Linked DNA regions of Homo sapiens: regions 1, 2, 3, 4, 6 and 7 are each linked to region 5. The links are contacts of gene promoters, found by promoter capture Hi-C in blood cells and fetal thymus (Javierre and others, 2016). All regions are on one chromosome and are shown on one strand. The core of a region is centred on a gene start or on the middle of the fragment in contact, and the rest is flanking DNA. Distances in the headings are between cores, read along the strand shown.

Region 1 (4,124 bases), core at 181-2,680, 750 kb before region 5:
GGCTAATTTTCCTATTTTTTATTAGAGGAAGGGTTTCACCATGTTGACCAGGCTGGTCTTGAACTCCTGACCTCAGGTGATGCGTCTGCCTAGGCCTCCTCAAGTGCTGGGATTACAAACATGAGCCACCGTGTGCAGCTTGTGTCTTCATTTTTAACAGAAAAGTTTAAAAAGTAAAAAAGAAAAATTAAAAATTTTTAAAATAGAAGTTTATAGAATAAGCACATAAAATATTTTTGTATAGCTATATAATGTTTTTAAACTTTTGAAACTGTTATTTCAAGAGTCAAAAAGTTAAAAAAAATTAAACCTTAGTTTAATGTAAATTTTTTACTTTATAAACTTTTTAAAAAGAAAAATTTTAAAACTGTACTGTAGCCTAAGTGTACAATGTTTATCATAAAAGTCTACAGTAACAAATAGTAATGTCCTACGCCTTCACATTCACTCACCACTCACTCACCAGAGCAATTTCCAGTCCTAAAAGCTCTGTTCATATTAGGTATCCTACACAGGTAGACCATTTTTGATCTTTTATACTGTATTTTTACTGTACCTTTTCTACGTTTAGATACACAAACTTGCCACTGTGTTAAGGTTACCTACAGCATTCAGTTCAGTAACATTCCGTGCAGGTTATTAGCTTAGAAGCAATAGGCTCTACCATATAGCCTAGTTGTATAGTTAGGCTATACCATGTAGGCTTGTGTAAGCACATAACAAAATCACCATTGATGCATTTCTCAGAACATATCCCAGTCATCAGGCAATGTGTAACTGTATTTAGTAAGATGAAAATAATCACCAAAAGAGCTTAAAACAGAAACCATTAAAAATTAACAGTGAATTCCTCCAGAGTGGAATTGGGGGTGGGAGGGAGAGAGACTATAAATACAATCTACATAATAGCTAAAACAAAAACAAAAACAAAATAGCTGACAGAATCAGAACCCCTGATCTATGGTCCAAAAACATAATGGTTAACTTTGGATAAAAATGTAAAAACAATTATTTATAAAACTAGTAAGTAATCATATGAAAATTGAAACAGCTCTTCCTAATCTTACTAAAAAAAATAAGAAACAGAAAAATCACCTAAAAGACAATAAGATCTATTTTTTCTAACAAATGATCAATTTCTTAGAGGATTAGAATGTTTGGGCCACATAAACTTATTTGTGAACACTTCTCTAGGTGAAACTTAGAAGGCAACATGTTAAGAATTCCATGTCAAAGGCAAATGATGTAGAACATGAGTCACGTAACAGAACTGCACTAGGAAGAATCTATCCCACTAAAGCCAGAAATTGCTTAAAATATATTTATTTAGTGTATATAATAATAAGAAAATATAAGAATAAATATCAAAATGTGAGTGGCTACTTCAGAGTGGCGAGAGCATGGGTGACTTCTATTTCATTATTTGTTCTTTGCTCTGTATTCTTGAGATGGAGTCTCGCTCTGTCGCCCAGGTTGGAGTACAGTGGCAGGATCTCGGCCCACTGCAACCTCTGCCTCCTGGTTTCAAGTGATTCTCCTGCCTCAGCCTCCCAAGTAGCTGGGGACTACAGGCATGCACCACCATGCCTAGCTAACGTTTGTATTTTTTGGTGGAGATGGAGTTTCACCATGTTGGCCAGGCTGGTCTCAAACTCCTGACCTCAAGTGATCCGCCTGCCTCGTCTTCCCAGAGTGTTACAGACATGAGCCACCACACTCGGCCTCTATATTCTTAATTCATTTCAGTTTTTCAGAGATTTTTTTTTTGAGACAGAGTCTCACTGTCACCCAGGCCGGAGTGCAGTGGCACGATCTCGGCTCACTACAACCTCCACCTCCTGGATTCAAGCGATTTTCCTGCCTCAGCCTCCCGAGCAGCTAGGACTATAGGCGCACACCATCACACCTGGCTAATTTTTGTATTTTTAGTAGAGACAGGTTTTTTTTTTGGGGGGGGTGGTTAATACTTTTAATTACATGATTGTAATTATACAATTTCCACTCTTCAATATTTTGTATAAAACCAGTTACAACTCACAAGATTTTCAAATGAGACAGGATTTTACCAGGCTGGCCAGGCTGGTCTTGAACTCCTGACCTCGTGAGCTGCCCACCTTAGCCTCCCAAAGTGCTGGGATTACAGGCGTGAGCCACTGTGCCCAGTTTTTCAGAGTTTTAATCACAAATAATGATATTTTACATTATGACTCCATATATAACTGTATTCATACAACACTACTTACCCTGACTATATACAACATGAATTAGAACTTCCTAATCTATTCTGCTACATGTAAATTTTTTTATGATACATTAAATAGATTTCAACATCAAAAGTCTACTTTTCTTTTTCTTTTCTTTTTTTTTTGATAGGGTCTTGCTCTGTTGCCCAGGCTGGAGTATGGTGGCACAATCATGACTCACTGCAAAGTCTGCCTCCCAGGCTCAAGTTATCCTCCCACCTCAGGCTGAATAGCCAAGGCTATTGGTGCACACCACCATGCCCACCTACTTTTTGTATTTTTTTGGAGAGATGAGGTTTTGTCATGTTACCCAGGCTGGTCTTGAACTCTTGGGCTCAAGTGATCTGCCTGCCTCGGCCTCTCAAGGGATTAGAGGCATGAGCCACTGTGCCCAGCCAAAAGTCCATTTTCAATACACATTTATTTACACATTCTGTTCCATTAAGAATAGAAAGTTATTGAAAATATTTCAAGAAAATTACATCCTGATATATAATACATTCTGGCTTTTTGAGGACATTTAGTTTTAAAAGTGACTCTTATTTTCTTCACCTTTTTTCCTATGTATCACTTTCTAGGGGATATAAAACAGGTAAATGTCTATTTCTAATTGTGTTCTTTTTCCATTTGTCTCTGGATATACAAGAAATTTTAAAATCTTTAAAATTTTTTATGTGGCCATTATTCACCAAACCAAGTAGGTAGGTGACCAAAACAGCTGAAGGAAAGAAAACATGTGGATATGCATTTGATCATAAATTTTAAGCAATATATGCCTGTATCTGTAAGTATACCTTTGTCAATAAAGATGAGCACAGGAAGATATATCTTTCTTTTGGGTCACAGCTTACACTTAATCTAGTATCTGAGTATACATAAATATGTATGGCAAATTAGTGAGAGGCACAGTCAAGGTAATTTGCATGCATTAATTTGTAAGGTGTGGGGCTGTGTGAAGGAAGACACTGAGTGTCTGCAGAAAAAGGAGAAGGTTTGGATATAAAAGTTTCAAATCTTGTTTTCCCACTTCCCAGTTCCCAAGGACTCTTGGGATATAGAGAAATACTGAAGGGATTGCTTTTATAATATGAAACCATGAGGCATAAGCAGCCCTCCTTGAATAGCCAAGCAAAACCCAAGACAGCCAAGAACACTTTTCCTTTCTAAGCAGAACATAGGTTTTTGATCTTGCCTCTATATGGCACTCAGAGCAATCATTCTAACACACAAATCTAATCACATTTCTCCCCAAGCTTACAACTATTACATTTCTAATTATTTTACAGAAAAATCCAAATCTTTAATATGGCTAACAAGGATTTTCATGAGCTGGACTCTGCTTATTCTACCCACAACTCTTATTCTACCCACAATACTGTTAACAACCTACTCTTCAACCTTGTATCATCCATTCTGAACTTCTTTCAAAACTTTGAAAGGTAACATGCTTTCTTGCTCTTCCCTCTGTTTAGGGTACTCTTTACTTGATACTTACTTCCTCATCCATCAGGCCTAAGCTTAGATATTTCTGTCTCTGAGAAACCTTCCTAACTCCTCAAAAGCCAGGTTAGGAATCTCTGTGCATCTATAGAACTTTATACATATATAGTAATTATGAATGTTTATGAAAATTTATTAAATCTTCTCTCTACTCTATGGCAGTGACACTGTCTTATTCATTTGTCATATCCCTAGGTAAGATATGGTATTGGCAAATGGAAAGTTCTCAATAAAAATTTACTGGCAGGTATCCAACTGAGTGGTGACAATTTCCATACTCTGGAATCAATCTGCAGTTTGCTTTCACAATCCTTCTGTGGCAAGGACCTTCCTGAGGCATCATTTTAATACTATTTTCTCACACTTAGCAACTTAGGTCTT
Region 2 (3,814 bases), core at 67-2,566, 760 kb before region 5:
TTGCTTTTAGGTACTAAGCAGGCTGTGTTTATGACTAAGTTAATTTTGTGATGCTAACATGATGGCAACATTTAAATGCTGGATGTATTAGGCAAAATTATCAAAAGCCACAGCTATTAAGACATACGAAAGTCAAACTGGCAGCAACATTAATTGGCAGGTTCATGAAATAACAAACAGGAAAAAAAAAGCTTGTGTAACTATGTGCTAACATCAATACCAAGTCCAGAGTATAGAATGCAGGCTTATTATTATTTTGGTTGCTTCATGGGTATACAGAAACATAACAAAAGAAGGTTTATAACAATGTTTACTCAATGTAAAATATTGTTGAGTCTGGGCTTAGATATTTTGAAGATAAAGAAGGTCACAGTGAAGAGGTCAACTCTAAGCATGATAAGCAGTTATTACAGGTCTTCCTTACTAGGCAGAAGACAACAGGGAAGGTAAGTGTAAAGGACCTCCTGGAAGAACACTTCAAGACAGTCTCAAATATCACCTCTTATAAAACATTATATAGGGTAATGCTTACAAAAAGTATTTTCTTAAGCAATGTTGTCTTATGTGCTAGAGTGAATACTAGATGAAAATTCAGTTGGAAATCTCAATTCAGTTTCTCATTTGTGTATTTACTGACCTAAGAAGAGGACAAATGGGCTTTGCCATTATGGGTCTGTTCTATAAAATGTACATTTAAAACACTTCCAGAAAGTTGAAGGAAGTGGTTGATAATGTCTGACAAACCCCCTCTTCAGAATGATTTAGCAAAGTTAAGTTTTATCTGATTCTAAGGTCAATCTTTAAGTATCAGTGGAGCCCCACAAAGGAAATTTATCAACAATAGCTTTCAAGATGGTTAGAAATTAATAAAGCGGGTATAAAAATTAAGGATCTTTCCTTGGTAAGATATTTTAAAACTGTAGTCTACGGCCATACCATCCTGAACGTGTCCGATCTTGTCTGATCCTGGAAGAAATTTTAAAACTGTAGATAATACATTTTAAGACTTCCTTTTGGCCGGGCGCGGTGGCTCACGCCTGTAATCCCAGCACTTTGGGAGGCCGAGGCGGGCGGATCACGAGGTCAGGAGATCGAGACCATCCTGGCTAACACGGTGAAACCCCGTCTCTACTAAAAATACAAAAAATTAGCCGGGCGTGGTAGCAGGCGCCTGTAGTCCCAGCTACTCGGGAGGCTGAGGCAGGAGAATGGCGTGAACCCGGGAGGCGGAGCTTGCAGTGAGCCGAGATCGCGCCACTGCACTCCAACCTGGGCGACAGAGCGAGACTCCGTCTCAAAAAAAAAAAAAAAAAAAAAAAAGACTTCCTTTTATGTCCAGTCATCTTTTCTACTCATGTTATAAACTAGTTAACATTTTATTAGAGGTAAATGACAAACACTACAGAAAAACAAAAAAATTTTGGGTTTCTCTACACATTTTTCTCTGTGTCTGTTACTTGAAAGAGGCAAGTATAAAGGAAATAAGCAGCAAAGCAATTGCAGTTTCCTTGAGTTTTTAAAAAAACCTGAAATCACTACTTACCTCCATCACCACGAAATCCTTGGTCTCTAATCAAGTCCTACAAATAAATAGTAATGTATATTTATTCCAAGCAAGCATATAATCAGAGAGTAGCGATAACACTGAATTTTCCACTAACGTTAAAAGAATTATTTTATTAATTAAAACAATACATCTTATAACTATTACACAAAACAATTTGGAATTATCTAGTGAACATAATACAATCTAAATTTTGAAGCACTTGCCAATGTAAACCTATAATGAAACAATTATTAGTCCTAATCAAATGTTGATGTCCATTTCAGGCCATTCAAAACCAATGGCTTCCATTATCCTCAACAATCTAATGCAGGAGCAGAAAACCAAATACTGTGTTTTCTCACTTATAAGTGGGAGCTGAATGATAAGAACAAGTGGACACATGGGGGAAACAACACATACTGGGGCCTGTTGGAGGGTGGATGGTAAAAGGAGGAAGAGCAACAGAAAGAATAACTAATGGATGCTGTGCTTCATACCGAGGTAATGGGATAATCTGTGTGGCAAACCGCTGTGGCACATGTTGACCTACGTAACAACCCTGCACATCCTGCACATGTACCCCTGAACTTTGGAAATAAATAAATTTTTAAAAAATGGCTTCATCAATCCTTAAAAAAAATTATACTGGTGCACATTAAGAGAGATAAAAATGTTCATATCCTTTGATTCTGTAATTCTACTTCTGGGAACTTTTCTTAAGGAAATAATTCAGAAGAAAAAGTGATATGCACAAAGATGTTTAGTGCAACATTATCCATCATACTAAAAAGTTATAAATAATTATTTCTCTATTATAGGCATTTTGACATATTTTGGTTAAGAAAATTATGGTGTATCAATTTAATGAAGTATTATGCAGCTACCAAAATAATTATGAAGCTTGAATCATGAAACATGTTTATAGTATAATTTAAAAATATAAAATTAAAAGTACACTGGTTACAATCATAAAAATATGGATGGATAAGGGCACACTAGAAGAGGAAAGAAACAAAGTGGCTCATAGAAAGGTTTTGTTAAAATTTGTCCTTTTTTTTGAGACTCAGTTGCTCTGTCGCCCAGGCTGGAGTGCAGTGGCGTGATCTTGGCTTATTGCAACCTCTGCCTCTTGGGTTCAAGTGATCCTCCTGCCTCAGCCTCCTGAATACCTGGGACTACAAGCACGCACCACCATGCCTGGCTAATTTTTGTATTTTTAGTAGAGACGGGGTTTCACCATGTTGGCCAGGCTGGTCTTGAACTCCTGACCTCAGGTGATCCGTCCACCTCAGCCTCCCAAAGTGCTGGGATTACATGCATAAGCCGCCGCAACCGGCCACTAAAATTTGTCTTTATTATTAAAATATAGCTCTTTATGCGCCGGGTGCGGTGGCTCAAGCCTGTAATACCAGCACTTTGGGAGGCTGAGGCTGGTGGATCACGAGGTTAGGAGTTTGAGACCAGCCTGGTCAACATGGTGAAACACCATCTCTACTAAAAATACAAAAATTAGACAGGCATGGTGGCACGCGACTGTAATCCTAGATACTCAGGAGGCTGAGGCAGGAGAATTGCTTGAACCTGTGAGGCGGAGGTTGCAGTGAGCTGAGATTGCACCACTGCACTCCAGCCTGGGTGACAGAGTGAGACTCCATCACAGAAAAAAAACAAAAAAAAAACTATATATATATTTAGCTCTTTATAACAACGATGGTAGTGGGGACAGTCGCTACTGGTAATGCAATTTGGGCCTTGATGGGTAGAACTTGCATTAGTCTGTTTATTTAGTTTAACTTAAATATGAGGGATTGAATGGCCCCAAATATCTCTGAATAGTCTCTGCAAATAGACAACTTTTTGTTTACAGGCTAAAACAAAGTAAATTCTTTAAAGATGTATTTCTATCATGTTTAATGTATCATATAAAGTCTTCAACATTTTCTACAGAAAAATCAAATACGTACCTGAAAAGAAGGTGACAGGAGTTATATGGCTACTAACAAATATAAAAATCCTAGTGATGTCATTAACTTTCCATTCTTGAGAGCTTACAATCTCATGGGAAGTAAGATGCACACATTGGAAGTAAGTGAAAATCAAATAATTTAAGAATAATTGCATAAGAATATAATAAAAGAGATGCCAAAGTTTGCTGCTCAATTGATTGCCAACTAAGTGATACAGGTGATAAGATTTTGAGATGAAGTCTTGCTCTTGTCACCCAGGCTGGAGTGCAATGGCACGATCTTAGCTCACTGCAACCTTCGC
Region 3 (4,147 bases), core at 912-3,411, 630 kb before region 5:
TATTAAATGAAAATCATGATGAGAAACATCATTTTACACTGTAGGGATAATTCCCTGGGCTAACCAGTAAAAAGCTATCAGTGCAGTTTAAAACAAAGTAAAGGGGCCCTATAGGCCCCACTGAAAAAGGTAGAAATATGACCAACTACTACCATATGCCTTTCCTTAGAAGAAACATAATGATTTAATGATGCCCCTAAGATTCATAAAGATACTAACTCTGAAATATCACAGAACATGACATAGGTTTCAAATGGAAGAACTCTTCTAATGAAGATGGAGAATAACACATTGTAAACTAGTATCTTTCACAACCTAATTGACACTTTCGGTGACTTTTTTTGGTGAATAAACATCTTAACATATTCATTTTCCCCTATACACATTTTGATTACACCTCATAATGCAACACGGTAAAAAGGACGTGATTGACTTTTCTGTGCAACCTACTAAAATATGTCCTTTCTTATAAGGAAATTAATTTTGGTTGCAACTTTTACCTGTCACTTTTCATGAACCTCACCACCACATAATTCAAGACAGAGATATATTAACTATATACTGAAGTCTTAAGTATTTGGGGGTAGAAGACACCTTTGAAAACCTGAATAAAATTATGAGTCTTCTCCTTCCAAAAGTATGGTAACAAGAAATTAAAAAGTCAAAGTTCTAAAAATCTTCTCAACTGGACCTACCTGATTTTAAATTTAACTATAAAGCTATCATAACTAAGGTAGTGGGGTATTAGCCTAAGAAAACACACACAGATCAATAAAACAGTAGAATCCAAAACTCACAAACATAAGCAATTGATTTCAATAAAAGTGCCAAGGTGATTCAAAAGAAATTTGATAAATGTGAAACAACTGGACATCCATATGTAAAATAATGAATGAACCTTAACCACTGCTTCACAATTGCTGGAGTGCAATGACGCGATCTCGGCTCACTACAACCTCCCTCTCCCGGGTTCAAGTGTTTCTCCTGCCTCAGCCTCCCAGGTAGCTGGGATTGCAGGTGCCCACCACCATGCTCGGCTAATTTTTGTATTTTTAGTAGAGAGGGGGTTTCACCATGTTGGCCAGGCCAGTCTCAAACTCCTGACCTCAGGTGATCTGCCCTCCTCAGCCTCCCAAAGTGCTGAAATTACAGGTGTGAGCCACCATGCCCGGCCCCACTGATATGACTTTTATATGACTCCATTTATATGACTTTCTGGAAAGGGCACAGAGATCAGACCAGTGTTTGCCAGGGGCTGAGGGTAGAAGATGAAACTGAGTGCAAAGAGGAACTAGGAGCTGGGCTTGGTGCATGCCTGTAGTCCTAGCTACTTGGGAGGCTGAGGCTGGAAGATTGCTTGAGCCCAGAGTTCAAGTCCAGCCTGGGCAATACAGTGAAACTCCACCTCTCTCTCCCTCTCAAATAAATCAATCTAGTTTTTACAAAAGCAATTATGAACTTTCTATAGACCTCTAACCTACATCTTACTTTGAGAACCTCAAATATAACATATATAGTCTCCCTTAGACCAGGAGTCAGAACAGTTCAGCCCATGAACTGGCCCACTATCTGCTTTTGTATAGCTCACAAGCTAAGAATACTTTTTACATGTTTAAGTGGTAGAAAAAAAATCAAAAGAAGATTTTCATGACACATGAAAATGATATGAAATTCAAATTTCAGTGTCCTGAAAATGACTACTGGAACAGAGTCAAACTCATTTGTTTAAATATTGTCTATTAGCTACTTCTGAGCTACTACAGTATTGTTGAGGAATTGTGAGAGGAACTGTATGTCCCACAATGCCTAAAATATTTGCCATCTGACCCTTAAGATTGCTGACCTCTGCCTTAAGACACAAGTTGTTGAAATTTTCTACACAGATGATACCTGAGAAGATTTATGCCAGCACAAACCTCTCTTCCATACATAGTAGCTCTAAAATTTTTACAGCCATAAAACCCTTTTTTCAAGGAAACTAACATGTAAAGCAGATAAATGAAGAACTTCAATAGTTATGGTATAGGGCAGCACTCCCCAACCTTTTTGGGACCAGTGACCAATTTCATGGAAGACAATTTTTCCATGGACAGGGGTAGAGGGGGTTTCAGGATGAAATTGTTCCACCTCAGATCATCAGGCATTAGATTCTCACAAGAAGCACACAATCTAGATCCCTCACATGCACAGTTTCTGATAGGGTTCACGCTCCTGCCGCTGATCTGACAGGAGGTGGAGCTTTGGCGGTAATGCTCACTTGCCTGCCACTCACCTCCTGCGGTGTAGTCAGGTTCCTAACAGGTCACGGACTGGTAGATACGAGGCTGTGGCCCAGGGGTTGGGGGCCCCTGGTATAGAGGCACTAAACAGAGCCCTGGGGTAACCTCTGAAGAAGGTCCTTGAAACCCCAAAACAGTGTTTTTCAAACTGCCTGTTGCAGCCAATTTGGCTGTCAATTTCATAAGGTGATTTTGTGACCGGCAGAAAAAAAGAATAGAATGTTACAGAAAATCAGATCACCTCATATCCAGTAAGGTTTTATTCACTAATTCTTTCACCAAATATTTTAGTACCTATGTGCCAGGTACTATTATAGATGAAGATTTTAAAACTACAAAACAGACAAAAACAGTTTCACATATGCATTAGTGCAATTTGGAATTTTTATTCTGGCCAGGTGTGGTGGCTCACGCCTGTAATCCCAGCACTTTGGGAGGCTGAGGCGGGCAGATCACGAGGTCAGGAGATTGAGACCATCCTGGCCAACACGGTGAAACCCCGTCTCTACTAAAAATACAAAAAATTAGCTGGGCGTGGTGGCAGGCGCCTGTAGTCCCAGCTACTGGGGAGGCTGAGGCAGGAGAAAGGCAGAAAGGCGTGAACCCGGGAGGCAGAGCTTGCAGTGAGCTGAGATCGCGCCACTGCACTCCAGTCTGCGAGACAGAGCGAGACTCCGTCTCAAAAAAAAAAAAAAAAAAAATTATTATTTACAATGATAGAATGTTTTCGAAAAATTCTCCTAGAGCTCTGGCGTACTTTGAAAACCACCGTCCCACAGTACATTTGTCCCAAACGTGCTGTCAGGAACTGCAGCTACATTACAAGAATGAAAACGACGCTTTATCCGATGTTACAGAGCTTCCAGAAGATATAAAGTTAATTGAGTTCAAAGCAATTTTTATATTCTACATCACCAGGGCCCAGAAAAAGAAGTTACTGGGCATTGAGTTCCCTCTATATGCATAGTCTTGATACAGGAAGGAATTAGAATAATAGTTTTTTTTTTTAAGCCCAAGAGAAAACATGGACACAAAAATAATCTCAGAGGGTAGGGGGGAAAAATAATTGCTTAATGTTAGGGTGGAGACTGTATTAAAGAGTATCTTCTGATTACCATGCTAATTAAGTATGTTAGTGATTTAGGCTGGAAAAATTGAAATCGAAAAATAAAAACATGGCAATGAAAACAAAAAATTTAAGAAAGAAATGGAACAAATGAGGCTATATTTTTCTTCTTACACTAACATGAAGTTATCCATAACCTTATGATTTTAAAAAGCAGTACTTGACACCTTAAAAACAGAAAAGCTCCCAAATAGGCCCACCTATTTTGAATTCAGAAGTTCTACAAGCAAGTTTTTTTGTTTTTTTTTTGTTTGTTTGTTTGTTTGTTTTGAGGCAGGGTCTCACTCTGTTGCCAGGCTAGAGTGCAGTGGTGCGATCATGGCTCACTGCAGCCTCGAACTTCAGGGCTCAAGTGATGCTCCCATCTCAGCTTCCCAAGTAGCTGGGACTACAGGTGTGAGCCACCACGACCAGCCCTACTGCCACATCTGACTTTACAGAATAACCAATGTAAGTTAAAATAGAGAAACAGAATGAGTAAAGGACTTAAAACACTTTAACTTCTGATGAAGACAAAATCTAGTAAGAGCTACTGACAAAAAAAGGCTTAAGGACAATATGAGGCAGAAATGTAAGGTGACTAGACCATACTGGATTTCATAAAACAAGGGGATTATGACACAAAATGTTCACTAGGTATTCAGCTAAATTAACAACATCAAAGTGTCAAAGAAACAAAATGCACTTCTGCAGTTCTGAAAGAGAAAACAATTTTATAATTGGGAGAAAAAGGGAAAAGGAA
Region 4 (3,881 bases), core at 1,040-3,539, 810 kb before region 5:
TTCTTATTATAGTAAACATTCTTATATATATCTGAATACTTATGAAATAGGTTACATAGCACAGATTTTTAGAAGTATTTTGAATTTATGGATTCTACCAAGGTCTTCCAAAATGCTGCCTTCCACCAAACCTTTAAAATTTTACATAGAATGCTCCTCCTCACTTCCCAACATTGTTCCCAGTGCTGGATATTACCAACCTGAGAGGCGAAATTAAAATATATTTCACTGTTGTGTCTTTGCATTTTACTGACTGCCATGGAAATATTTACACCTTTTCCTAAGTTCATTCACCATTTGTATTTATTATGTGAATCACCTGTTCATATTCCCTTTGCCCATTTTCTATTGTTTGTTACTTATTGATTTGGAGGAGTCCTTTGTATATTATAAACATTTACTTTTTGTTATATATGCTACAATTATTCTTTTTATCTTTCAATGTTATTTTTCTATATAGAAGTTTAAAAATTTTTAATGTACTCACATCTGCTAATTTTTTCCTTCTGAATTTTGTCTATTAAGAAAGCCTTTCCTACCTCAAAACTATAAAAATGATTTCATATTTTATAAAACATATAGATCTTCAGCCATCTAAAATTTATGTGGCATATAACAGTATGGTGTGAAAAGATATCCTGTAACAAAAATTTCAAAATAACACTTTAAAGGGATAGCCTCCAATAATCTGGAAAGTTCACATATGCACTTCAGTTTTTGAAACCATGTAATTAATGAAATGTTATATTTAGAAGTATGGAGCTAAGCATTTTGCCCCTTTTAATATCATTTAAAAAGTGGGCCTAAGGATGTACTTTGCATTATTAATGTCAATAAACATTCTAAGTAAGAACCCGAGCACCATGACGTGAAAAGAGAACATGGGACAGGGTCATGCTGAAGCTGCTCAGCAGCACTTGTCTCTCACCAGGACAGTCTCAACCCAGAGGTTTCCTGACTTAGAGAAACAAATAAAAAAATAAAAAGAAAAAATAAAAACTCTTCCTCAAAGGAACAGTAACTTTGAAACCTGATAAATGAAACTTATATCTACCCAGCCAACCACTTAGCTTTCCCTTTCTTTTCTTAGGCAACACCCTGACAGACTTGTTAAAACCATCAATTTTATCTTCTTTCATTCTTTAGAGAAGAATAACATTTTTTAGATTTAAAAATAAAGGATGAGTGAATCTAATTCCTGTAACATTGACTTCTGTCTGAGTTACTCAGCTAGGACTGGGCATTCAAAGGCCTAAGAGTTCATACATGAACACTCCAGTAATTATGGTAGCAGGGTTACTATGGGAAATAGCACTTCCCACTTGAAACTGTACTGATTCATCAAGGCATATTTATCCAGTGCTATCAGGAGCTCCCTAAGTATCAGAAAACATTGCATTTATATTATAATATCTACTACAGCTAAACTCTGTAAGCTAGTTGAGGTATTTAGATATTTTTGTTTTGTTTTGTTTTAAACAGAGTCTCATTCTGTTGCCCTGGCTGGAATGCAGTGGTGTCATCTCAGCTCATTACAATCTCCACCTCCTGGGTTCAAGCGATTCTCATGTCTCAGCCTCCTGAGTGGCTGGGATTACAGGCTCCTGCCACTATGCCCAGCTAATTTTTGTATTTTTAGTAGAGACGGTTTTCACCATGTTGGCCAGGCTGGTCTCGAACTCCTGACCTCAACTGATCTGCCTGCCTTGGCCTCCCAAAGTGTTGAGATTTGTAAGCCACGACACCTGGCCTTAGTTACAGTTCTTTTTGAAATTTGTTAACTTAAGGCTTTATCCTTCCAATATGGAAAAAAAAAAAAAAAAGCAGTGAGTTATCAAGAATTAGGTAAAGGCAGGCTGAGCTGACAAATGCCTTACTGCCTTTTCCTTTTTCTGCATCAGGCAGAAATGCCCCTCAAAAAGACCCAGTATTAAAGGAAAGCTTGAATCTGTTTACCACCAAGAAGAAATAAAGCAGTGGTTCACAAAATGTGGTCCGTGGACCACCAGGGGATCCACGAGGTCAAAACTATTTTTGTAATAACAATAAGATATCATTTGCCTTTTTTACTGTCATTATTTTACAAGCGTTAAGTAGAGTTTTTAGGGGTGACATGATGTGAGATATTGCAATGTGAGTGCAAAAGCGGAGAATCCAGCTGTCTTCTTTTTGCAAAGGGATTTGCAAAAAAAGTAAAACAATACAACTCCTCACTAATTTTTTTCTCTTAGATAATAGAACTGTTTTTTTCTAAATATTATTTAACATATTGGTTTACTATGTTTAATTCATTAATATTTTAAAAAATAGTTTTAATTTCTAATAAGGAATTAAAACTTATATAAACAAAAGCTCTTTGTGGGGGGGGGGGTCTTCGATAATTTTTAAATGTGTAAAAGAGTTCAAAGACTGAGAAGTCTGAGAACTGATGGACAAATGCAAAGTCTTTCTGAATATTTTGTATTAGGACCCAAAATTTCTAGGTGTGCCACTGCTCAACCCTCATGAAGCCATCTTAATGTGTTTTCTTGTCTGGAGTCTGCACATAGAATCCAAACTCATGAAATACACACTGTGTGCCCAAAAAAGTGCTCAGAAATCTGTCTATGAATGTTAGTCTGTTCTTTTGGATAGCATGAAGCTTTTACTTACTTGGGGAAAGAGTGGTCTCTCATCTCTTTTCTTTTTGAGGCACTCTGCCATTAATCTCTTCATGGCTTTTGGACAGTTACTCCGTACCTTACTGAGATCTGGAGACAGGTATCCTCGTCCCACCATAAAAATTATCTGGAGAGAGAAAAAAAAGGGAAATAATTCAACCTTGTAGATAAGTTGAAAAATATACTTCACACTCATTGAAAACACAATAAGCTGTACATTTACAGCTTACGATGTATGTATTACACCTCAATAAAAAGTTTTAAAAAACCAATGCCACATCATAGATGGTGGGAAACCCACAAAAGGAGTGCAAGCTCAAATCTTCATGATCCTTGGACTGTGGCAAAGGTTCTCTAATTGCTCCCCTGCTTTTGGTCTCTCTTTATCCAGTCCATTTTCCCACTCACAGGGTAACCATCTAAAACAGATCTGACAGTGCCTCTTCTTTACTTTAAAAAAAAAAAAAATTTATTCAGCACTTCTTGTTGTTGGACGTTGTGTTAAGTCCTCTATATATGTGTAGGGAAAACCAAAAAGGTTAACATTTTAGCAGTCGTTTTGGCATCTGCATCTTAAGCCCTTTTATTGTGGAAACGCTAATGGGCCACTTGGTTATACAAACCAGAGCCTCCGCCAGAGGAGAGAAGGGGAAGCCATTAGGAGCTAAAATCTGTTTAACGAAATAAAAAGGCTTGTCTTCCCTGGATTCAGAGATTTATAATTTTTTCTAATTTCTTAATTTCCTAATATTTTGCCTCTTTTGAGGGCAGGCAGGGATAGATGTTAGGAGTCTTGGGACTCAGGGAGGACAGCCTGAGAGAAGGGCTTTTGGTCTTAGAGGGAATAGGTGCAACAGGGGGAGAGTAGAGGCTAAAGTGGAGAAAGCCCATAAAAGATCCCTGCTACAGGGCAGAGCTGATGAATTTTAGAAACCGCCAAGCTTGATACATTGTGTTATTTCCTGTTTGGTGCTGTAATGACCCTTGTTTAACTGCCAGGCATTAGTAAAGCTTTGATTGCAATGTGGCCTCTATGTAGTAGAGGTTAAAGGATGAACCTTGGAAAGAGTTACTGAATTGAGGGGATTACAGTTTTCTTTCACAATGCCCCCTACTGAAGCTACACCATCATAACATCATCATTTTAATGGAAGACAGCAGTCTTAGAATTTTGGGAGCAACCTGGAATAATATGTTGGAGCAACAAGTGACAAGCAACAG
Region 5 (3,876 bases), core at 1,003-3,502:
GGCGCGATATCGGCTCACTGTAACCTCCGCCTCCCAGGTTCAAGCAATTCTCTTGTCTCAGCCTCCCATGTAGCTGGGATTACAGACACCTGCCACCACGCTTGGCTAATTTTTGTACTTTTAGTAGAGACAGTTTCACCATATTGGCCAGGCTGGTCTCAAACTCCTGACCTTAGGCAATCCACCCATCTTGGCCTCCCAAAGTGCTGGGATTACAGGCTTGAGCCACTGCGCCCAGCCTAACAGAAGTTCTTGGGGCTGCCTAAGTCAGAGTGTCAGGTTTCTGTTGGGCTGCAGGAACCCATTCAGGGCTGGCTAGAGCTTGTGCCTGATTATTCTGGAATCTGAATGCATCCTAGTAAAATGGTATTTGGAAGAGAGTAGAATTGGTATAGGTCTCCAAAACTCCAACCTACACATCTGCCTGCAGGTGTGTATTCAGATTCCCTTAATCTCCTATATTTCCATCCTTCTTCATCCTTCATCAAAGCTGACCTTTTCTTATTTGGGGAACCACTTTCATGCTGAAGCCCTAAAGCATACGCTGAGTCTGACCCTTGGAACATCAAAATCAAGTCTCAGATTTTTCTAGCCTGCAGGTGAGCAGTTCAGAAGCTTATTTCCAAACACAAACGCTTTAGATAGTTGGAAAAGAGGAACTGAAAATAATGGTCTTCCATACCCTATGACAACATTTTAGAGCTAGAAGGGTTTTTTTTTAATAGTAATGTTCTCAGTCCCCTAGTTTACAGATGGAGACTCAGGAGAGAGGGCTAGAAATTTCTTGCTACTAAACAGTGTGGCCCAATGGATTGGTGCACCCTGGCATAAGGAATATGTTTACTGCACCATAGCCTCATTGAAGGTCCCCGCCCCGGCCTTTTTTTTTTGAAGCATTCACCTAGGGAGACATAGGTAGGATGCATGTCTACACGTAGGAAATGTGCAGACTAGATAGCAAGCTCCATGGGGCAGGAACCATGAAGGGCCTTGTACCTGAGCATACCCCCAGTGCCTGATGCAGGGCCTAGTGCACACTCAAATGTTGGTTGACTGGCCGGGTGCGATGGCTCATGCCTATAATCGTAGCACTTTGGGAGGCCAAGGCGGGCAGATCGCTTGAGGTCAGGAGTTCGAGACCAGCCTGGCCAACGTGACAAAACCCCCGTCTTTACTAAAAATACAAAAAAATTTAGCTGGGCCTGGTGGCACACACCTGTAATCCCAGTTACTCGGGAGGCTGAGGCACAAGAATTGCTTGAACCCGGGAAGCAGAGGCTGCAGTGAGCTGAGATTGCACCACTGCACTAGCGCCTGAGCCACAGAGTGAGACCCTGTCTAAAAAAAAAAAAAAGTTGGCAGACTGAATGCTGGAAAGAAGAAGGACCTGGCTTTGTCCCCACACCAATCTGGTGGGCGAGTACAGAATGTAAACTGTCTGGAGGTTGGCATTGGCCTAGCTTCTCCGTTGCTCTCTTGTTCTCTAGAATCCAATCAAGCACCTGTGGCCAGAGAGCTGTGTGAAATGGAAACCAGTCCCACCAGCCCCTGATTGCACCCCCGCAATGTCTTCTCGCCCTGTTTAATGTCATGTCCAAACTCCTGGCCGCCGTGGCCTGTCTCCACCTCTCCAGCTTCCTCGCTTGGCCTGTCTCCTTAGCTCTCTCTGTCTCACCCACACTGGCCTGCAACTCGCCAGAGTGCCCCAGGCTTTTCAGCTTTTGCACGGGCCCTTCCCTCTCCAGGCTCTCTCCCCTGGATCTTTGCTTCAGCTGCTCCTTCTTGACATCCAGGTCTCAGACCAATGGCCCCTTACTCAGAAGGCCTAGCGCAGGCCGCCTAATTTCACACAGTTCTCCCCCTTCCCGCACTGCCTTCCATCACCTCGTTTCATTTTCTTCGTGGCACGGAGCACCATCTCCAATGGCCTTGTTCATTTAGTTAATTTATTTTCCGACTTAGTTCCAGGTGCTAAAACAGTGTTACCTTGGCAGGCTTCCCATCAAATATTGTTGCGCAAAGGATGGATGGATGAAAGGAAGAGTGAGCCAATAAACGAGGGAACGCCGGGAAAGGCAGCCTCAAGCCGGTGGGCCCTGCCACCCCCACCGTCCCTGAGCATCCGAGCCGGTTCCCGCCCCCGGCCCGAACTGGCCCGCGCGCGCTCGCAGCCCCGCGGCGGAACCCGAGGGCGGCGGCAGCGGTTTCCCTTGAACGAGCCGGGGAATCTGGAGGGAGCACACAGGAAAGGCAGAGCCGCGAGCTGGACCAGCCGTGGTGAGTGCAGCGGCGCCCAGGCGGGGAGCGCAGTGCGGGTCGCTGGGACTGAGCGCGCGAGCGGGGTGGGAGTCGGGATGGGGGCCCGGGGCGCTGGGCGGAGCCTCTGGAGTCGCGCTGGGCCGAGAGCCGCGGGGACCCAAGCATCAGGGGTCGTGGGTGCAGGCGGCGGCGCGGCTTGAGGGTAGGGGGTGCGGGCCTGGCCGGCGCGGCAGGGGAGGGCCTCGCGCGGATCCCGTGGTCACGGCGGGAGTCAGCTGTCCTGGGTTCGAGTCCCAGAGCTGTCGCTAACTTGTGGACCCCCCTCACTTCGTCCCTTGGGCTTCAGCATAGCCCTTTGCAAAATGGGGCCAATAGTATCAGATCCATTGATGGGTTGGTTGGTTCATTCATTCTGGCGCTTTACTAGGTTCTGGTGCTGCAGATGGATAGACGAACTTGCCCATGAGGGGTTCACTATCTAGTAAGAAAAACATTTCCACCTGGATACTCCACAGGCGTGTCAAATTCAGTATCTCCTAAACCGCACTACTTTTCTCCACAAACCTACCACTCAAATCTAAATGACTGAAATCACTATTCAACCAGTCACCCAAGCACAAAAACCTGGCTTGGTTCCTCCTCTCTCACTTACTACAGTCAATGGACCACCAACTGCTGCCAATTTCTACTTTCTAAAGCTTTCCAAATCCATCCTTTATCTTGGTTTGTTCTTTTAGGAGCCTACAGATTATGGCAATAACTTCCTAATGGTTCTCTTTAGCTTTAATTTTAGCTTCTTCCAGTTCATTTTTCATTCTGCTATAAAGTGGTCTTTTAACAGTTCAAATATGATTATATCACTCACCTGCTTAAAGCCCATTAAAGGTTTTTCATTGTCTTCAAAATAATAGCCAAAGTCCTTAGTGTGGGTTCAAGGTCTTTTCTAATCCCACCTGGTCTTCAATCCTTTATCTCTAAACCACTGTTTCTCAAAGTCTGGTATAGTGGTGACCTCCATTGCAACCAACATGGGAGTACTTGTTAACAAGTGAAGATGACAGCTTAATTCCAGAACAAATGAGACTCTTGCGGGAAGGGGCAGTTCCCAGGATTCTGTGTTTTTAACAAGTTCTGCACTAAAGGTTGAGAACCCCTGTTCTAGACACTCCAATTTTTACTCCGCTGTTGATGAGATTCAGGACACACTGCCGCAAAATATGACTCGTTGGCATTAGAGGAAACAACTGAAGCAGGAAAGTCACTTTGTGTCTTCCCACTTTTCTCCCCTGAAGCAGGCCATAAAAGAATTGTTTGACCTTCTTCTGTATAAGACCCTTCAGTGAGAGGTGCTCATCCTGTAAGTATAGGATCGAGGAAAGGAATGCCCTTATCTTTGAAGACACAGGTACACAGAGAAGAATCAGAACAAATAGGCCTTGCTAAATTCTCCCCAGCGTATTACTGTTAGATCATACCCCCTTTTTCCAGTCTCAGCCATGAACCTAATTCTCCCCTCAACTATCTACGTATGTTTCTCTCAACACACTTTACTGTCTTTTATGCCTTTGTACACTCTCAGTTTGGGCTACTGTAAAAAAAAAATAGCAAAAACTGGGT
Region 6 (3,945 bases), core at 916-3,415, 690 kb before region 5:
GAGTTCTAAATGAAGAAAATAGAATAAATAAAGATTATGCTAAAAATATTTGGAGTTAAAAACACCAATGGTCTGAGTAAAAGGGCTCAGTGAGGCTAAGGCGGATGAATTAAAAGACTCATATCTACATAAATCCTAGTTTACATAATTAAATTCCAGAAATTCAAAACGGAAAACTCTAAAAGCTTCCTATAACTAGAATTAATTTGGCATCAGACTTTTCATCAGCAACATTAAAAGACAATGAAGACGGAAAGTAGATTACTTGTTGACTTAAGGCTGGGGGGTGGGCAAATTGGTGGGAACAGAGAATGACTGCTAATAAATCCAGGGGTTTCATTTTTGAGTGATAAAAATATTCTACAATGTACTGCGGTGATGGCTATACAACTCTATGAATATATTAAAAACCACTAAATTGCACATAGTATGGTATATGAATTATGCCTCAATAAAACTGTTATTTTTTAAAAGATAGTAGAATAATGTTTTCACTGTCTGGGCAAAAATGACTGTGAATCTGGAATTTTACATCCAGGCAAACTACCAGTCAAGCATGAGGGCAAATGAAAACCTTTTTGGACATGTTAAGTTCTCAAAAAATTTACTTCAATAGGAATCATCCATCTGAAAACATTTCTATCTTTTGACCTAGCAATTCCACTTCTAAGAATTTTACCAATCTCTCACAAAATTGGAAAAAAGGAGTAGGCCTCTCGTCCCAGCATTTATAAAGATAAAACAAATGATTCACCAGGTTAAAAAAAAAAACTGATTTTTTAAGGCACTATTTTTACATATAACAAAACAAACACAAAACTGACGTAAATAAGTTGGTCCCAAAACAATAGAAAGTAAAAGGAAATACACCCCACAAAAAGCCATGTTTCCAACTAGAAAGTTAAAGATAGTGACTGTGGCTATATGGTAAGCAAGGGGAGAGTAGAAACAAGATGGGTATCAGAAAAATTAGGCAATATGCCAGGTTATGAAGGATCCTGAAAGCCACGGTAAGTAGAGTTTTAATTTTATTCTAAGAGCAATGAGAATCTAAAGTTTCAAAAACAGGTATGTGTGACATAATCTGATTTATATTTTACTAACAATTTACTTCTGATATGGTTTGAATCTGTGTCCCCACCCAATCTCATGTCAAATTGTAATCCCCAATGTTGGAGGTGGGGCCTGGTTGGAGGTGACTAGATCATGGGGGTGGATCTTTCATGAATGGTTTAGCACCATCCTCTTGATGCTGTCCTTTTGATGAGTGAGTTCTCAAAAGATCTGATTGTTTACAAGTGTGTAGCACCTCCCCCTACCCCTTGCTCCTGCCATGTAAGACGCACCTGCTCCTGCTTTGCCTTCTGCCATGACTGTAAGTTTCCTGAGGCCTCCCCAGAAGGTGAGCAGATGCCAGTATCATGCTTTCTGTAGAGCCTGCAGAACCGTGAGCCAATTAAACCTCTTTTCTTTATAAACTACCCAGTCTCAGGTATTCCTTTATAGCAATCAGAGAACAGATAAATATACCATCCCATTTTATAGACGAGCACATTGTGGCATAAGTGTTAAGTATATTGCTCAAGGCCACTCAGCTAGTAAATTCTAGACAATATAACTCTAGAGCAGTATATATTATAGTACCTCTAATTATCACTCTAGTGAAGAATGGATTACGGTGCGCCAAGAATGAATGCAGGGAGGAAGACTAGTTGAAACTATGATTGTGTTAAGCAACCATAGTTAAGCAAGAGATGATTGCTTGGGCCAAGAGTGAATGCAGGGAGGAAGACTAGTTGAAACTATGGTTGTGTTAAGCAAGAGATGATTGCTTGGACCAAGGTGAAAACAGTGGAGATAGGGCTACTGGATTAGACATGGAGGAAGAGTGAGAAAAAACTAAGAATTAAGGCTGATTCTGAAATTCTGATGTGTGCAACGGGTGGACAGTGATGCCATGAGGGAGAGAAATCAAGCATTATGTCACCAACAGGAGAGGCTTACTAAATGATCAAGAAGGCAGCTGGTTATGCAAGTTTAGAACCCTGGAGGAGAGATGAGGCTGAAGACATATTTGGGTGTCACTAGCATACTGGGAGGCAGACCTACAAGAGAGTATAGGCCAAGAAGGCTCAGCCCTGGGGATCATAAACATTTACAAGAGAAACCAAAAATGGCTGAAAAGAAAGAAACAGACACTGAGGTAGAAGGAAAAAATATTCAGTTAAGAAAATTTATTAGATAAGAATAGGAACACATAATAGTGGCTAGAAGACATTAGGAAAGGTAGGAATTGTATATCTGTACATATTTGGTCATTCCTATTTACATACATTTGCAGATGTATTGGGGCTGGGAGATAATAGAGCATGTTTGTGGCTAAAGGGAATTTAATCGAGGGGAGAAGAATGATATGGAAGACAGAGATGCAGGAAAGATGAAATCTGAGTCACAAGTAGAGAAATCAGACTGTCGGGAATGGTCTTCGATAACAAATGAAAGGAAGACAGAACAAGAGGACCAATGCAGACAAGTTTGTAGAATTGGTGGTGAAAAGATGACAAGAGCTGCATTTAATTTCTCAGTAAAGTTTGAAGTGAATTCCACAGATAGGAGTGGGAGCTGTGAGAGGTTTGCAATGAGTGGAGGAAATGAATTTTTTTTTTTTTTTCTGAGACAGAGTCTCATTCTGTTGCCCAGGCCAGAGAGCAGTAGTGCGATGTTGGTTCACCGCAGACTCCGCGTCCTGGGCTCAAACGATTCTCCTGCCTCAGCCTCCCAAGTAGCTGAGATTACAGGCACACGCCACCACACCCAGCTAATTTTTGTATTTTTAGTAGAAACGGGGTTTCACCATGTTGGCCAGCCTGGTCTTGAACTCCTGGCCTCAAGTGATCCACCTGCCTCGGCCTCCCAAAGTGCTGGGATTACACACATGAGCCACTGCGCCCAGCCAGCAAACGCATTTTTAATTGGGAAAGTGAAGAAGCAGCTGCACTGCCAGACATTGTTGATGCCCTGTTGAGGGTTTTGGTATACATTTAAAGCACTACATTCAATTGCCTAAGTGCAGGCAGGTAGCGGGCATTTTGTCAGGCCCATATGATGAAAAGAGAGAAAAATTAGAGAGCCAAAGGTATTAGTAATTTTTACAGTCATTTCATAATAGTATCTTGACCCTGAATTATGTGGACTGTGATGAAACAAATAGTATCACTTGAGAATGGTAAAACTGTAATCAGGAGCCAGACAAGTGTCTACATAGATAGAACCCTTTTAAGTCTTTTAAGGAAAAGGCTGATGATTTAGGAGTTTGATGATCATAGTTCCACAATTCCTTTGGCCTGGCAGAAGGTGAGAAGTAGAAATAGAGAAGTGATATTCATGAAATCAATAAGCAGAAACTATTCTAACTTAGAGTTTAACTTAGAAATCATCTAAAATAATCTAAAACTGAATAAGAGGATCAAACATTTTTTTCTGGCTAATTAAAAGCAGATTAAGCCCTAAAGTTTCAGGGATGGCAGGGGAAAGGAGGGGAAACAGTATCAAGAATAACTGTCCATAACGTCAAACTGTCCACAAAGTCATCCACTAAATTTACGTAACATTTACAAATTCAACAATTGCTCACAATTACTATTCAAATGGGTTTTCAGTGAAACAGATCAAATTTCTGTCACATAAAACTGAATTTTCGGAAAGGAGCTGTATTTGGAGCAGGATTTAAATTGAAGGAAAATATGTGAAACAATAGATGTAGTGTAGGTTCAGGACTTTTAATTGTAAGTATTTTTATGCACCATAACAATATACATATCATGTTTCCTGCGTTTTGGTACAACTCCTGGTCATAACTTTCTCTCACTGTAACCTGCTTTCCCAGGTTACTCTCAGTTCTCCAAAACCCTGGGACACCATTCCAGAGCACCACATCCTATCATT
Region 7 (4,034 bases), core at 1,298-3,797, 880 kb before region 5:
TTTTTCCTCCTAGATTGAGTGGGTAAATAAATCAGGAGGAAGTTAGGGAAGGGGGCAATTAATGGCTGGTGCTATTGCAAGCTAGTGGTGGTAGGTTTGACTTCTGGGGAGTGGATTGTTAGTTATCAAGGCAAGAGGAGCCACTGGTCACCCTCCCCCGCATTCCTGTCTGTAGCCTAGGTCCCACAGTTTGGGAACCTCCTTAAGGGATGGCTGTCACACTTCCAGCAGTGGGAACCGGGTGCATAGGCCTGTTCTTGCTTCTCTTTCCTTAGCGCCCCTTCCACTTATGATGCCCACAGACCCACCCTTGGGCAGATTTCTGTGGAAGCCTCTCACTTGGGGATAAAGCCTGTCTATATGTAGAGGTGACTGTGGTCCCTCAAGGCAGGCAGCTGCAAAAATCTCAAAGGACAGAGAAGATGGTTGTAGAAGCAGTACCATGGGACCCTTCAATGGCTCTGTGGGCTGATTTCCAAGCTCCACCCCTCTCCCCTTGGTCACAGGGCCACCTGACTTCCCTTTGGTTCTTCGAGGTTATACAACATCCCCACCTGCCAAACCTCATACCAAACTCCTTCCTATGTTTAGGGCTTTATTTGGCCCCCTCCTCTAAGGCTTTCTCTGGCCTTCCCTTCCTCTCCAGGGTAGTTGCATGCTATGTGTGCCTCTGGTAATCTTTTTTTTTTCATGGCTTTTTTTTTTTTTTTTTTTTGACAGAGTCTCCCTCTGTCGCCCAGGCTGGAGTGCAGTGGTGCCATCCTGGCTCACTGCAACCTCTGCCTCCTGGGTTCAAGCCATTCTCCTGCCTCAGCCTCCTGAATAATCTGGGACTACAGGCATGCACCATCACACCCAGCTAATTTTTGTATTTTTAGTAGAGATGGGATTTTACCACATTGGCCAGGCTGGTCTCGAATGCCTGACCTCAAGTGATCCCCCCGCCTCGGCCTCCCAAAGTGCTGGGATTACAGGTGTGAGCCACCGTGCCCGGTCATTTCTTGCATGGCTTTGCCACACTTTGAAACTGCACATTTTGATTTCTTATCATGGGTGTTTTTTTAAAAAAAATTGAAATTGCACATTTATATGTTCCCATGTTGGGTCCCCCTCATTACGTATTCAGCCAGTAAGGGCAGGATATTTGTGTCCGCTTTCCCAGGGTCCAGCACATGACCTAGCTTGATCAGTACATATTATTGAGCCTCGACAAATATGAGATTGGGCTCAAGAAATATTTATTGGGCTCAGTGAGTATTATTGAATGAATGAATATGGCCTTTCCGGAGCCTTTCCCCAAGGTCCAACACAATTGCCGAATTAATGCAGCCGAGGACACAGCATCCAGTTCCTACTCCTGCAGCCCAGTTACCCCCATCCAACACCACCCCCCTACCCAACCCCCGCTGAAAAGCGGACCTGTGTTCAGAACCTGCCTTCATACTTTTCAGCCATGCTCTTTGGAATAATGAAAGATACGAAGAAGTCAGTGGGAAGATAGACATGGGGAGGGGGACATAGAGGGTGCCTTTGCGTTTTGCTACCCAGGACCCAGGACTCAAGGGCAGGGTGGTCTTGGCCTGGGGTCGCCGTCCTCTTTAAGGGGCGGGTCAAGGGACCCTGGCTGCCCGGGCCTCTGCCACCGACCCTCTGCTCCCTCCGACCCTCACCGCCCAGCACCCAGCCCTCTGCCCCCACCGGCCACCCTGTAACAGCCCAGCGGGTTCACCTTGCCTGCTGCCTAGACAGAGCCGATTTATCAAGACAGGGGCATTGCAATAGAGAAGGAGTAATTCACACAGATCAGGCTGCGCGGGACACTGGGCAGAGTTTTTAAGGACAACTTGGTGGGTGGGGGAAGGCCAGTGAGTCGAGAGTGCTGATTGGTTGGGTCGGAGGTGAAATCTTAGGGAACTGAAGCTGTCCTCTTGTGCTGAGTTAGTTCCGGAGTGGGGGCCTAAGATCAGATGACCTGGTTTATCGATCTGGTAGGTGTCAGTTGATCCATCAAGTGCAGGGTCTGCAAAATATCTTGAGCACTGATCTTATTAGCAGTTTAGGGAGGGTCAGAATACTGTAGCCTTGCTGCCTGACTCCTAAATCATACTTTCTAATCTTTTGGTTAATTTGTTAGTCCTACAAAGACAGTCTATTCCCCAGGCAAGAAGGAGGTTTGTTTTCAGAAAGGGCTGTTATCATCTTTGTTTTAAACTATAAAGTATAAACTAAGTTCCTCCCAAAGTTAGTTCAGCCAACGCCCAGGAATGAACAAGGACAGCTTGGAGGTTAGAAGCAAGATGGAGTTGGTTAGGTCAGATCTCTTTCATTATCTGTTATAATTTTGCAATGGCGGTTTCAACCTAGTGGCCGAACCCGTCCCATCCATCTCCCGCGCCCCTCCGCTCCACCACAGCCCTCGGTGCCTCGGTTCCCTGCACCTGCACTCCCGCCCGCCCCCGACGCTCCGCCCCCGACGCTCCGCCCGCCCTCCACGCTCCGCCCCGCCCTCCCGGCCCCCGCCTGCGCCCGCGCCCTGGGCTGGTGCCCGCCACCCCAGCGATCTCATACTGGCCCCTGGGCGCACGGTGACCCTGCGGCTGCCCGGCCCCTGCCTCCGCCCGCGCGGCCCCCTCGCTCAGGTCGCGGGCGCCCGGGGCCTGGCTTCGCGTGGGTCCTGGCTCCTCCCGTTCCGCAGTTGGTGCCGTCTGACAGCCCCTTCCGCGCGGCGCGGCGCGGCGCGGCGGGTGTCGGGCGGGGCGCGGGCCTCCGGCCTGAGGCCCGGCGAGGTGCTGGAGGGAGCGGGGCGCGGATCCGGCCCAGATGGGCAGCTCCGTCCGCGGGGTCAGGGCCGGGCTTCGGCTTCACCGCAGCCTCGCCTGAGCGGGCGCCTCTGAAGTGGAGGGCGGGCCGCCTGGGCCGCGGGCCTCGGGAGGATGGTGGCGCCCTGGCGCGTCTCCGTCAGGGTTTGCCTGTCGCACCTGAGGTGCTTCGAGCTCAGACAGGGACTCAGCCTCCTGAGGCCCTCCGAGTGCCCTCGCGATGCCAGGCTCTGCTGGCTTCTGCTGGGCACTTTGCCCAAGGTCGTCTCCCTGTGCGGGGACGTGGGTGAGGGGGCCCCTGACGTTCTGAGTCGGCGAAGGGTCCGCTGCAGCGGGGCGGCTGGCGCGGGGCCCGCGGAGAGCCTCCCCCGAGCGGGACCTCTGGGCGGCGTCTTCCTGCATCTCCGCCTCTGGCTTCGCGCCGGCGCTCTGTTGGTGAAATTCTTCCCCCTCCTACTCCTCTACCCCCTCACCTACCTGGCTCCCAGCGTCTCCACCCTCTGGCTCCACCTGCTTCTGAAAGCCACCGAGACCTCAGGCCCAACCTACATCAAACTGGGCCAGTGGGCCAGCACCCGGCGCGATCTGTTTTCGGAGGCTTTCTGTGCCCAATTTTCCAAGCTGCATGTCCGAGTGACGCCCCACCCGTGGACTCACACTGAGCGCTTCCTTCGGCAGGCTTTTGGGGATGACTGGGGGAGCATCCTCTCTTTTGAGAACCGGGAACCTGTGGGCTCAGGCTGCGTGGCCCAGGTGTACAAAGCATACGCCAACACTGCCTTCCTGGAGACTGACAGCGTCCAGAGACTTGGCAGGGCCTCCTGTCTGCCGCCCTTCTCACATACTGGGGCAGTCGGTGGGCTGAGAGAGCTCTTTGGATACCTTGGAAATGGCCGGAAACCTCCAGAAAATCTCGCAGACCAGTCGTTTCTAGAAAGGCTGCTCCTCCCTAAAGCTGACCTGGTTGGATCAAATGCAGGGGTGTCTCGGGCTCAGGTCCCTGGCCACCAACCTGAGGCCACCAACCTCATCTCCGTGGCAGTGAAAGTAAGTGTTGTGAGAGCTCACAGCTCACCTACCCACTGAGCTATCCCAGATCAGAAACAACCGCCATGCAAATCGCCCCCACGTTTATTTCTATTTGCCTGACCAATATCTGAGTGCTTATTTCATGCAAGCTGTTTCATTTATTGGCTTGAAGTGGCGGTGTGAATA

The links. Contacts are between HindIII fragments. The CHiCAGO score rates a contact against its expected background, and 5 or more counts as called.
Region 1: a contact is called between a fragment that was not itself captured here and the fragment with the promoter of AGK in region 5, in 2 of 17 cell types (total CD4 T cells and M2 macrophages). The highest score is 5.7, in total CD4 T cells.
Region 2: a contact is called between a fragment that was not itself captured here and the fragment with the promoter of AGK in region 5, in 4 of 17 cell types (M2 macrophages, endothelial precursors, M0 macrophages and 1 more). The highest score is 8.0, in M2 macrophages.
Region 3: a contact is called between a fragment that was not itself captured here and the fragment with the promoter of AGK in region 5, in 1 of 17 cell types (M2 macrophages). The highest score is 5.3, in M2 macrophages.
Region 4: a contact is called between a fragment that was not itself captured here and the fragment with the promoter of AGK in region 5, in 1 of 17 cell types (endothelial precursors). The highest score is 5.3, in endothelial precursors.
Region 6: a contact is called between a fragment that was not itself captured here and the fragment with the promoter of AGK in region 5, in 1 of 17 cell types (M2 macrophages). The highest score is 5.0, in M2 macrophages.
Region 7: a contact is called between the fragment with the promoter of ADCK2 here and the fragment with the promoter of AGK in region 5, in 3 of 17 cell types (endothelial precursors, M0 macrophages and naive CD8 T cells). The highest score is 7.1, in endothelial precursors.

The regions. Positions count from the first base shown.
Region 1 is chr7:140,802,458-140,806,581 of GRCh38, forward strand. The region is part of intron 5 of BRAF (B-Raf proto-oncogene, serine/threonine kinase); the gene reads right to left. Among named protein-coding and RNA genes, the nearest start is that of NDUFB2-AS1, 110 kb to the left of the region's middle. The HindIII fragment of the contact is 4,127 bases long and covers 1-3,494 here.
Region 2 is chr7:140,786,005-140,789,818 of GRCh38, forward strand. BRAF (B-Raf proto-oncogene, serine/threonine kinase) reads right to left here. Exons shown (of 18, transcript NM_004333.6): 9 at 1,544-1,580. Among named protein-coding and RNA genes, the nearest start is that of NDUFB2-AS1, 91 kb to the left of the region's middle. The HindIII fragment of the contact is 2,255 bases long and covers 190-2,444 here.
Region 3 is chr7:140,916,187-140,920,333 of GRCh38, forward strand. The region is part of intron 1 of BRAF (B-Raf proto-oncogene, serine/threonine kinase); the gene reads right to left. Among named protein-coding and RNA genes, the nearest start is that of BRAF, 6.7 kb to the right of the region's middle. The HindIII fragment of the contact is 8,965 bases long and covers 1-4,147 here.
Region 4 is chr7:140,737,160-140,741,040 of GRCh38, forward strand. It overlaps BRAF (B-Raf proto-oncogene, serine/threonine kinase), which reads right to left. Exons shown (of 18, transcript NM_004333.6): 17 at 2,653-2,787. Among named protein-coding and RNA genes, the nearest start is that of NDUFB2-AS1, 42 kb to the left of the region's middle. The HindIII fragment of the contact is 700 bases long and covers 1,940-2,639 here.
Region 5 is chr7:141,549,158-141,553,033 of GRCh38, forward strand. It overlaps AGK (acylglycerol kinase), which reads left to right and starts at 2,253. Exons shown (of 16, transcript NM_018238.4): 1 at 2,253-2,277. AGK-DT (AGK divergent transcript) reads right to left here and starts at 2,187. Exons shown (of 6, transcript NR_183408.1): 1 at 1,987-2,187. RefSeq lists silencers at 2,048-2,137, 2,318-2,497. The HindIII fragment of the contact is 2,342 bases long and covers 614-2,955 here.
Region 6 is chr7:140,862,425-140,866,369 of GRCh38, forward strand. All of the region lies in intron 1 of BRAF (B-Raf proto-oncogene, serine/threonine kinase), which reads right to left. Among named protein-coding and RNA genes, the nearest start is that of BRAF, 61 kb to the right of the region's middle. RefSeq lists a silencer at 3,191-3,391. The HindIII fragment of the contact is 3,965 bases long and covers 184-3,945 here.
Region 7 is chr7:140,670,398-140,674,431 of GRCh38, forward strand. It overlaps ADCK2 (aarF domain containing kinase 2), which reads left to right and starts at 2,548. Exons shown (of 8, transcript NM_052853.4): 1 at 2,548-3,866. The coding sequence starts at 2,934. RefSeq lists a silencer at 2,483-2,942. The HindIII fragment of the contact is 25,667 bases long and covers 1-4,034 here.